2 separate regions of the Homo sapiens genome follow, and region 1 is linked to region 2. The links are contacts of gene promoters, found by promoter capture Hi-C in human tissues and cell types (Jung and others, 2019). All regions are on one chromosome and are shown on one strand. Each heading gives the region's core, a stretch centred on a gene start or on the middle of the fragment in contact. The rest is flanking DNA. Distances are from core to core; before and after follow the strand shown.

What was found. The method cuts DNA at HindIII sites, captures the fragments that hold promoters and counts their contacts. A contact is called where the count stands out against the background at its distance.
Region 1: a contact is called between a fragment that was not itself captured here and the fragment with the promoter of ASCC2 in region 2, in 2 of the 25 tissues and cell types used here (spleen and thymus).

The regions. Positions count from the first base shown.
Region 1 is chr22:29,892,594-29,896,634 of GRCh38, forward strand. The region is part of intron 1 of MTMR3 (myotubularin related protein 3); the gene reads left to right. Among named protein-coding and RNA genes, the nearest start is that of MTMR3, 11 kb to the left of the region's middle. The HindIII fragment of the contact is 5,497 bases long and covers 1-4,041 here.
Region 2 is chr22:29,837,024-29,841,028 of GRCh38, forward strand. It overlaps ASCC2 (activating signal cointegrator 1 complex subunit 2), which reads right to left and starts at 1,251. Exons shown (of 20, transcript NM_032204.5): 1 at 1,155-1,251. RefSeq lists an enhancer at 1,524-1,583. The HindIII fragment of the contact is 14,310 bases long and covers 1-4,005 here.

The DNA of each region.
Region 1 (4,041 bases), core at 1,269-3,768, 57 kb after region 2:
TCTGTGGCTGCCTGCCCCCCAACCCCTATAAATTATGACATCAGGAAACAAGGCTTTTTGTATTAGAAAAAAATGGGGAAATTAATTTCAGTTATTTCATGTGGGTCATTGGCAGAGAAAGATAATACTAAAATCTTAGAGACTGTGAAAAGAGATTATATTAAGCAACTTGAGTGATTACTTTTTTGCCAGTTAAAAGAAATGAGATAATTTATATTGAAGATGATTGCTATATACAGTGCTTTGCACAAAAGGCCACATATCTCTTTTTACCTTAGGTAACATGATGTATAAGCTACTTTCACATATATCTTCTTAGGTCATCACAAGGATTTGAGATCATCATTTAATCAGGACTGTTGTGACTTGCTTGAGACCACATGCCTAGTGTTTGACATCATATTTCAAGAGGTAGACTGAAAGTTCTGCAGAAATAGGGACTGGTGGCTGTTCTCTCCCTTACTCCCTAGCAGTTAATACATTGCCTGGTACAGAGTAAGCTGTCAATATTTGTGGACTATTTAAACTCCTGCATATTTATTTACACATGTAAATAAGTTATAGCATTGTAAAACCAACAGGTATATTTTCCGTAGTGAGATTGTTCCTTCATCTTATGTGCACAGAAAATATTTTCGTGGAAGAGGTCTTGAATTTTAGATCAACCTTTCACATATCCCTTTACTTTCTCTTAAGATACTTTCATGGTGACAAAAAAAATACTCTTAATGTCATTCCTTTCACTGTGTGTGTAACTCCTGTGGCAAGACTGTATATTTGTATGTATGTATTTGTTTATTTAGTAGGCTGCTATTTATAAAGGAAACATACTCATTAGTTGGTCTTTGCGTACATAATGGTTCCCAAAACATGGACTCCATGGTTTGCTGTGAGTGAATGAAAAAGAGCAGGTATGATTCCCCTCACCTTTGTCATTCTCTCCAGTTTCTTGTACATATGGTTGACTTACTCAGCAGTAAGTGTAACTTTACAATGAAGAAAATTAGTCTTCCAAAGAACTAGTATGCTACTTCCCGCTTGTTCTGCAGTATTTAAAATCCTGTTTGGTAAATGAACTAAGACACTTATATATAGAAGAGACCCTGGATGGCCATGAATGGAAATATTAGTAGTGATTAATTTCTGTCTTGGTGGGATAATGTGGCTTTTTTGCTTCTTATTCTTTTAGAGTTTCCCATTTTTCTACAACGAGCATGTATTACTTTTATACGTAGGAAAAACTGCTATTTTATTTTATTTTTTATTTTTTAAGACGGAGTCTCACTCTGTCACCCAGGCTGGAGTGCAGTGGCGTGATCTCAGCTCACTGCAACCTCCACCTCTTGGGTTCAAGCCATTCTCGTGTCTCAGCCTCCCAAGTAGCTGAGACTACAGGCAGAAGCCACCACAGCCAGCTGATTTTTTGTATTTTTTAGAGATGGGATTTCGCCATGTTGGCCAGGCTGGTCTTGAACTCCTGACCGCAGGTGACCCGCCCATCTTGACCTTCCAAAGTGCTGGGATTACAGGTGTGAGCCACCACGCTCAGCCAAAAACTGCTATTTTAAAGTCTTTATTTTTCACTGGATGTCTTCTGAAGGTTTATGTCGCACTCACCATTGAGAAAGTGGGTGGTTAACTGGCTCCAGTTCCTAAGAGGAGTGGCAGCGGTAGGAAGTAGTATGGGAGGAGTGGGGCAGGTAAGCTGATTTGAACTTTATCATTGTGAACTCCACTATGACTAAAGACATTCTGGGATTTGATCACAATTAAACCCAAGAGGACTGAGCCATCTAGTTTTTTTCTTCTTAATAAGCTGATTGAGAATTATAAAAGACACCTTAAGAAAAATCAGTTTCTATGCACTCTGTAAACACAGAACTCAGCCCGAACTCCCAAGTTCTGTATCCGTGTGTGTGTGTGTGTGTGTGTGTGTGTGTGTGTTGTGGTATGTTTTAAATATCAAATGGAGTTGTGGCAACTCAGATGGGATATGGTTTATATTAATACATCTAATATGAATTGGAAGATGCTTAGGCAAACGATTTTTATTATGACAGTATAGGCTTATTGGAGTTTTGGTGTTAATATACAGCTGGGAGTTGAGCCGTTCTAAGTTTATATAGCCATCTGGTGATATTTTAGGAAGAGCTGTGTCACATATCCTCTAGAGTTTAAGTGATTAGAGCTTGTTGGCTTTTGCTGTTAGTTTACTGCACACTTGTAGTGTTTTAAATGCTTCTGTGAATGGATAACATAATTCAAAAAGGTTAGATTTCTGGGTTAAGACATTTGTTATTATCGGCCCTTACTTTATTCTTTTAAAGAGTAAGATTAGGCTGGATGCAGTGGCTCGTGCCTATAATACCAGCACTTTGGGAGGCCAAGGTGGGCAGGTGAGGTCAGGAGTTTGAGACCAGCCTGGCTAACATGGCAAAACCCCATCTCTACTAAAAATACAAAAATTAACGGGGCGCGGTGGTGGGCATCTGTAATCCCAGCTACTCAGGAGGCTGAGGCAGGAGAATCACTTGAACCTGGGAGGTGGAGGTTGCAGTGAGCTGAGATCGTGCCACTGCACTCCAGCCTGGTTGACAGAGGGAGACTCCATCTCAAAAAAAAAAGTTGAAGAGCAGTTGAAATAATAAATGTAGGTACTGTTAGGTGGGTGCAAAATTAATTGTGGTTTTGGATTGTGAATTTTAAATCATTGTAACTAGGCCCAAACAGATCTTCATTTATCAAAATAGGAACTGTTACAATCAACACATTTTTACCGATGAGAAATAAGTTTGTTTATACCTGTAGTATAAAAATCCATGCTTTGAGATTCGATGAACTCTTGGAAAGCATTTTCTGCATCCTGCTGGTTGTGGAAGCATTTTCCCTGCAAAAAATTTTCTAGATGTTTGGAAAAGTGGTAGTCGGTTGGCGAGTGGTTAGTTGAATATGGTGGATGAGGCAAAACTTCGTAGCCCAATTCAACTTTTGAAATGTTGGTTGTGCAACGTGTTGTCGGGTGGTTGTGGAGAAGAATTGGACCCTTTCTGTGGACCAGTGCTGGCTGCAGGCATTGCAGTTTTCAGTGCATCTCATCGATTTGCTGAGCATACTTCTCAGATGTATTGGTTTTACTGGGATTCAGAAAGCTGTAGTGGATCAGACCAGGAGCAGACCGCCAAACAGTGACCATGACCACTTTTTGGTGCAAGTTCGGCTTTGGGAAGTGCTTTGGAGTGTCTTCTCGGTCCAGCCACTTAGCTGGTCATCACTGTTGTTGTATAAAATCCACTTTTTGTCGCACATCACAATCCAACCAAGAAATGGTTCGTCGTCGTTACGTAGAATAAGAGAAGACAACATTTCAAATCGACAATTTTTAAAATTTTCGGTCAGCTCATGAGGCACCCACTTATCAAGCTTTTTCACCTTTTGGCTGGGCGTGGTAGCCCACGCCTGTATTCCCAGCACTTTGGGAGGCGGAGGTGGGCAGATCACTTGAGGCCAGGAGTTCAAGACCAGCCTGGCCAACGTGGTGAAACCCCATGTCTACTAAAAATACAAAAATTAGTTGGGCATGGTGGCGGGCATGTGTAATCCCAGCAACTAGGGAGGCTGAGGCACGAGAATCGCTTGAACACAGGAAGTAGAGGTTGCAGTGAGCCCAGATCACACCACTGCACTCCAGCCTAGGTGATAGAGTGAGACTCCATCTCAAAAACAAACAAACAAAAAAAACTTTTTCACCTTTCCAGTTGGCTTCAATTGCCTGCCAAACAAGGGTAGAATGGTCGACATTGAGTTCTTCGGCAATTTCTCGTGTAGTTGTAAGAGGATCAGCTTCGATGATTGCTCTCAGTTGGTCATTGCCAACTTCTGGCCGGCCACTACACTCCTCATCTTCAAGGCTCTCGTCTCCTTTGCAACACTTCTTGAACCACCACTGCACAGTTTCTGGGCCAGATGTGTAGTTGATGTTGTGAGTTGTCTCCACTGCTTCACGACCCATTTTGAACTCAAGAAAATCACTTGAATTTGCTT
Region 2 (4,005 bases), core at 1-2,500:
AGCTATGTAGATAAGGCTCATGAAGCTGTGGCAGCATTTAAAAGAGAGACCTGGCTTGAGGAAGAAGTGATGTCAAGGAAGACCTGAGTTTTTGTCTAAAGCACGGGTACAAATTAAGTAGGCAGGGCTGGGCGCGATGGCTCACGCCTGTAATCCCAGCGCTTTGGGAGGCCAAGGCGGGCGGATCACGAGGCCAGGAGATCGAGACCATCCTGGCTAGCAAGGTGAAACCCCGTCTCTACCGAAAAAAAAAAAAAAAATTAGCAGGGCGTGGTGGTGCATGCCTGTAATCCTAGCTACTCAGGAGGCTGAGGCAGGAGAATCGCTTGAACCCGGGAGGCGGAGGTTGCAGTGGGACGAGATCACGCCACTGCACTCCAGCCTGGGCGACAGAGCAAGACCCCGTCTTGGGGGGAAAAAATAAATTAACTGGACAATCTGAACTTTGAGCTCCAAAAGGACAAACAATAATCATGACTATGTCTGTGCCCACCACTGTATTCCCCTGCCAGGCAGGACAGCAAAAGCCAAAAGCTAAGAAAGGGAGGGGGAGCTCCCTACAAGCACCCAATTGCAATATGGCCTGGGAGCATCCCCGGGGCTACTGCTCCCTCAGCCTCTTTGTCATCATTCCTCTAGTCTCTCAATTAAATACTACTCTCCTCAGAGACCTTCTGATGGCTCTGCCTATAGTATCCACTCTCCCAGTTACTGTCATAGCTTTAATGACCTTGTGCATTTGCTTGTCGTTGACCATCTCCTCCCACTAGACTGTAAGCTCCATGAGGGCAGAAGCCTTGTCTGTCTTGCTTTCTTTGTATCCCCAATGTCTAGATCTGTGTCTGGCACATAGGAAGCACTCCACAAATATTTGCTGAACGAATGAATGAACCCTGAGGAAACTGAAGCCCCGGGTGTGAGGACGTGGGGGGATCGTGGCTGGTCCAACGCCACTCTGGGGCCGAACTTCGAACCCGTGGCTCCTGACCCTGGCGGCCAAGTCTCGAGAGGCGGCTCACAACCCCTCAGGTAGCGTAAGCGTGGGCCCCGCAATGGAGGCCAGAGGATGGGAGAGCCAAGGCTGCCCAAGGCATAGCCGCGGCTCCTCCGGGGTCCCTTGCCCTGCATCTGGCAGGGACCAGCCACGCACTCACCTCGGCGGCTCCACCACCGGCTCTGTGCCGCCGCCGCCGCCGCCGCCGCCGACCACGGTGACAGCTCCCTGAGCGCCCGCACTTCCGGGGTCAAACTGCGATTCCGCAGGAGCAGACAGGAAGTCTCGGCCTGGCCCCGCCCCCAGAGCCGAGCAAACTACCGCCGGGAAGCCGGACCCGGGTTGCGCCTCTCTTCTTAAGACTCCGCCCCACACTCGGCGTCTGTAGCCACGCCCCCTTCCCCTCCTATCTCCCTTCCTGCTTAAGCAGAGAATAGGTCAGCTGAGGGCGGGCTGTGTGATTACACCTCTCGGGAAATCCAAGTATGGCACCTGAGAGGACGTCTCGGAATCCCAGGCTTCCACCTTCTGCCCGACCTCCTTAGTCACCGTTTTACATATTTAATCCAGAAGAGAAATTTTAACAAGTCAAAAGCACGAACATAATGTTAAGCAGATGTACAAGTACAGACTGCGATTTCATTTACGGGAAATTCTAGAACAGACAGAACTCATGAGTAGTGATGGTGTTAAAATTGGTGGTTTCCTCTGGGGCTGTGGGCTGGGAGGGGCCACAAGTGAGGCTGGGGTCACCCCCTGTCTTCATCTCGGTGGTAGCCATGTAGATGTGTTCACTTTGGAAAATTCATCAAATTGTACGCTTAAGATTTGTGCATTTTTCTGTATGTATGCAATACAGTTTTGTTCTGTTTTGTTTAAGGAAGTTACAAGTATAGCTATCCTAAGAGAAGGATGCAATTTTTTCTACAGAATGTCTCAGGTAATGTAGGTTTAGTGGTTCCTAAGCCTGACTATGGATCAGAATCATCACAGAAAACTTGTTAAGAACACACATTCCTGGCTTCATCTCAGTGCCTGGTACACAGTAAGAATTCAAAACCAACCACCATCATTATTGGGGTGTTATAGAAGCCCCCGAATGGAGAACACAACCCCACCCTGGGATTGTGAAATATTTCCCAGGACACTCCTGCCAACCCCTGCTATCTGCACTAGGGCTACAAGGAATGCTTAGTTCAGTGCCTGTCTTCAAGGGGCTTACAGGATAGGAAGTGCAAGAAAACCAATAGCAATGAGTCAGTGTGATGAATGCAGGGTGCTAAGGAAATAGGAGAGATGGGCTGTAAACCAGAAATGAGATGAGAGGGGCTGGATATTATATTAGTTTTGTATTGCTGCATAACATATTACCACAAACTTATAACAACACACTGCTTGCCACTTATAACAAACACATTTATTTATTTATTTATTTTGAGACAGAGTCTCACTCTGTCACCAGGCTGGAGTGCAGTGGTGTGATCTTGGCTCACTGTAACCTCTGCCTCCCGGAGGTTACAGTGGGTTCAAGCGATTCTCCTGCCTCAGCCTCCCAAGTAGGCAGGACTACAGGCATGAGCCACCAGGCCCAGCTAATTTTTGTATTTTTAGTAGAGACGGAGTTTCACCATGTTGGCCAGGATGGTCTCGATCTCTTGACGTCGTGATCCGCCTGCCTCAGCCTTCCAAAGTGCTGGGGTTACAGGCGTGAGCCACCACACCTGGCCAACAAACATATTTATTATCTCACATTTTCTGTGGGCCAGGAATCTGAGGATGGCATAGCTGGCTCCTCTGCATCAGGGTCACCCACAAGACTGCAATCAAGATATCGGCCAGGGCTGGAGTCTCATTTAAAGGCTCAACTCAAAAAGGATCTGCTTCCCATGTCTAGTGGCTAAATTCAGTTCCTTAATGGTTGTTGGACTAAGGGTCTCAGTTCCTAGCTGGATTTTGGCTAAAGGCTTGTCACGTAGGCTTCTCCAGTGTAGCAGCCTGCTTCATCAAAGCATGCAAGCCTAAAAGTTAATAGGGAAGCCAAGAGTGGTGGCACATGCTTATGGTTCCAGCAGGTTGGGAGGCTGAAGCAGGAGGATTGTTTGCGCCTAGGAGTTCAAATTGAGCCTGAGCAACATAGCAAGACCCAGTCTCTAAAAATTAAAAATAAATAAATAAATAAAAGAAGGCAATAGGGGCCGGGCACCGTGGCTCATGCCTATAATCCCAACACTTCGGGGGGCTAAGGTGGGAAGATTGCTTGAGCCCAGAAGTCTGAGGCCATCTTAGGCAACATAGCGAGACTTCGTCTCTACAAAAAAAAATTTAAAATTAGCCAGGCATGCTGGTGCATGCCTGTAGTCCCAGCTACTTAGGAGGTCGAGGCAGGAGAATTGCTTGAGCCCAGGAGTTCGAGGCTGCAGTTAGCTGTGATCACACCACTGCACTCCAGCCTGCACAACAGAGCAAGACCCTGTCTCAAACAAACAAAAGGAGGCAATAGGAGATTCTACTAAGAAGAGAGAAATTACAACCTCATGTAACCTAATCAAGAAAGTGACATCAGTTTTGCCATGTTCTATTTGTTAGTAGCAAGTCACAGGATTTGCCCACAGGGGATTACACAAGGGCATGAATACCAAAAGATGTGAATCAATGGAGGCCATTCTAGAGTCTGCCTGCCACAGATACTTGGAGGATGCATATCAACCCCAGGTCTGCAGCAGAGGAAGTAGAGGTGCAGAGAGATAAAGACAGTTGTGATAATAATGACCACATTTGTCAAACCCTTGCTTCATCCCAGGCACTGGAATAAGCATTTTACACATATTATCTCTTTGACTTTTTTTTTTTTTTAAATGAGATGGAGTCTCACTCTGTTACCCAGGCTGGAGTGCAGTGGCACGATCTTGGTTCACTGCAACCTCCGCCTCCCAGGTTCAAGCCATCCTCCTGCCTCAGCCTCCGTAGTAGCTGGGACTACAGGCATGCACTGGGCTAATTTTTGTATTTTT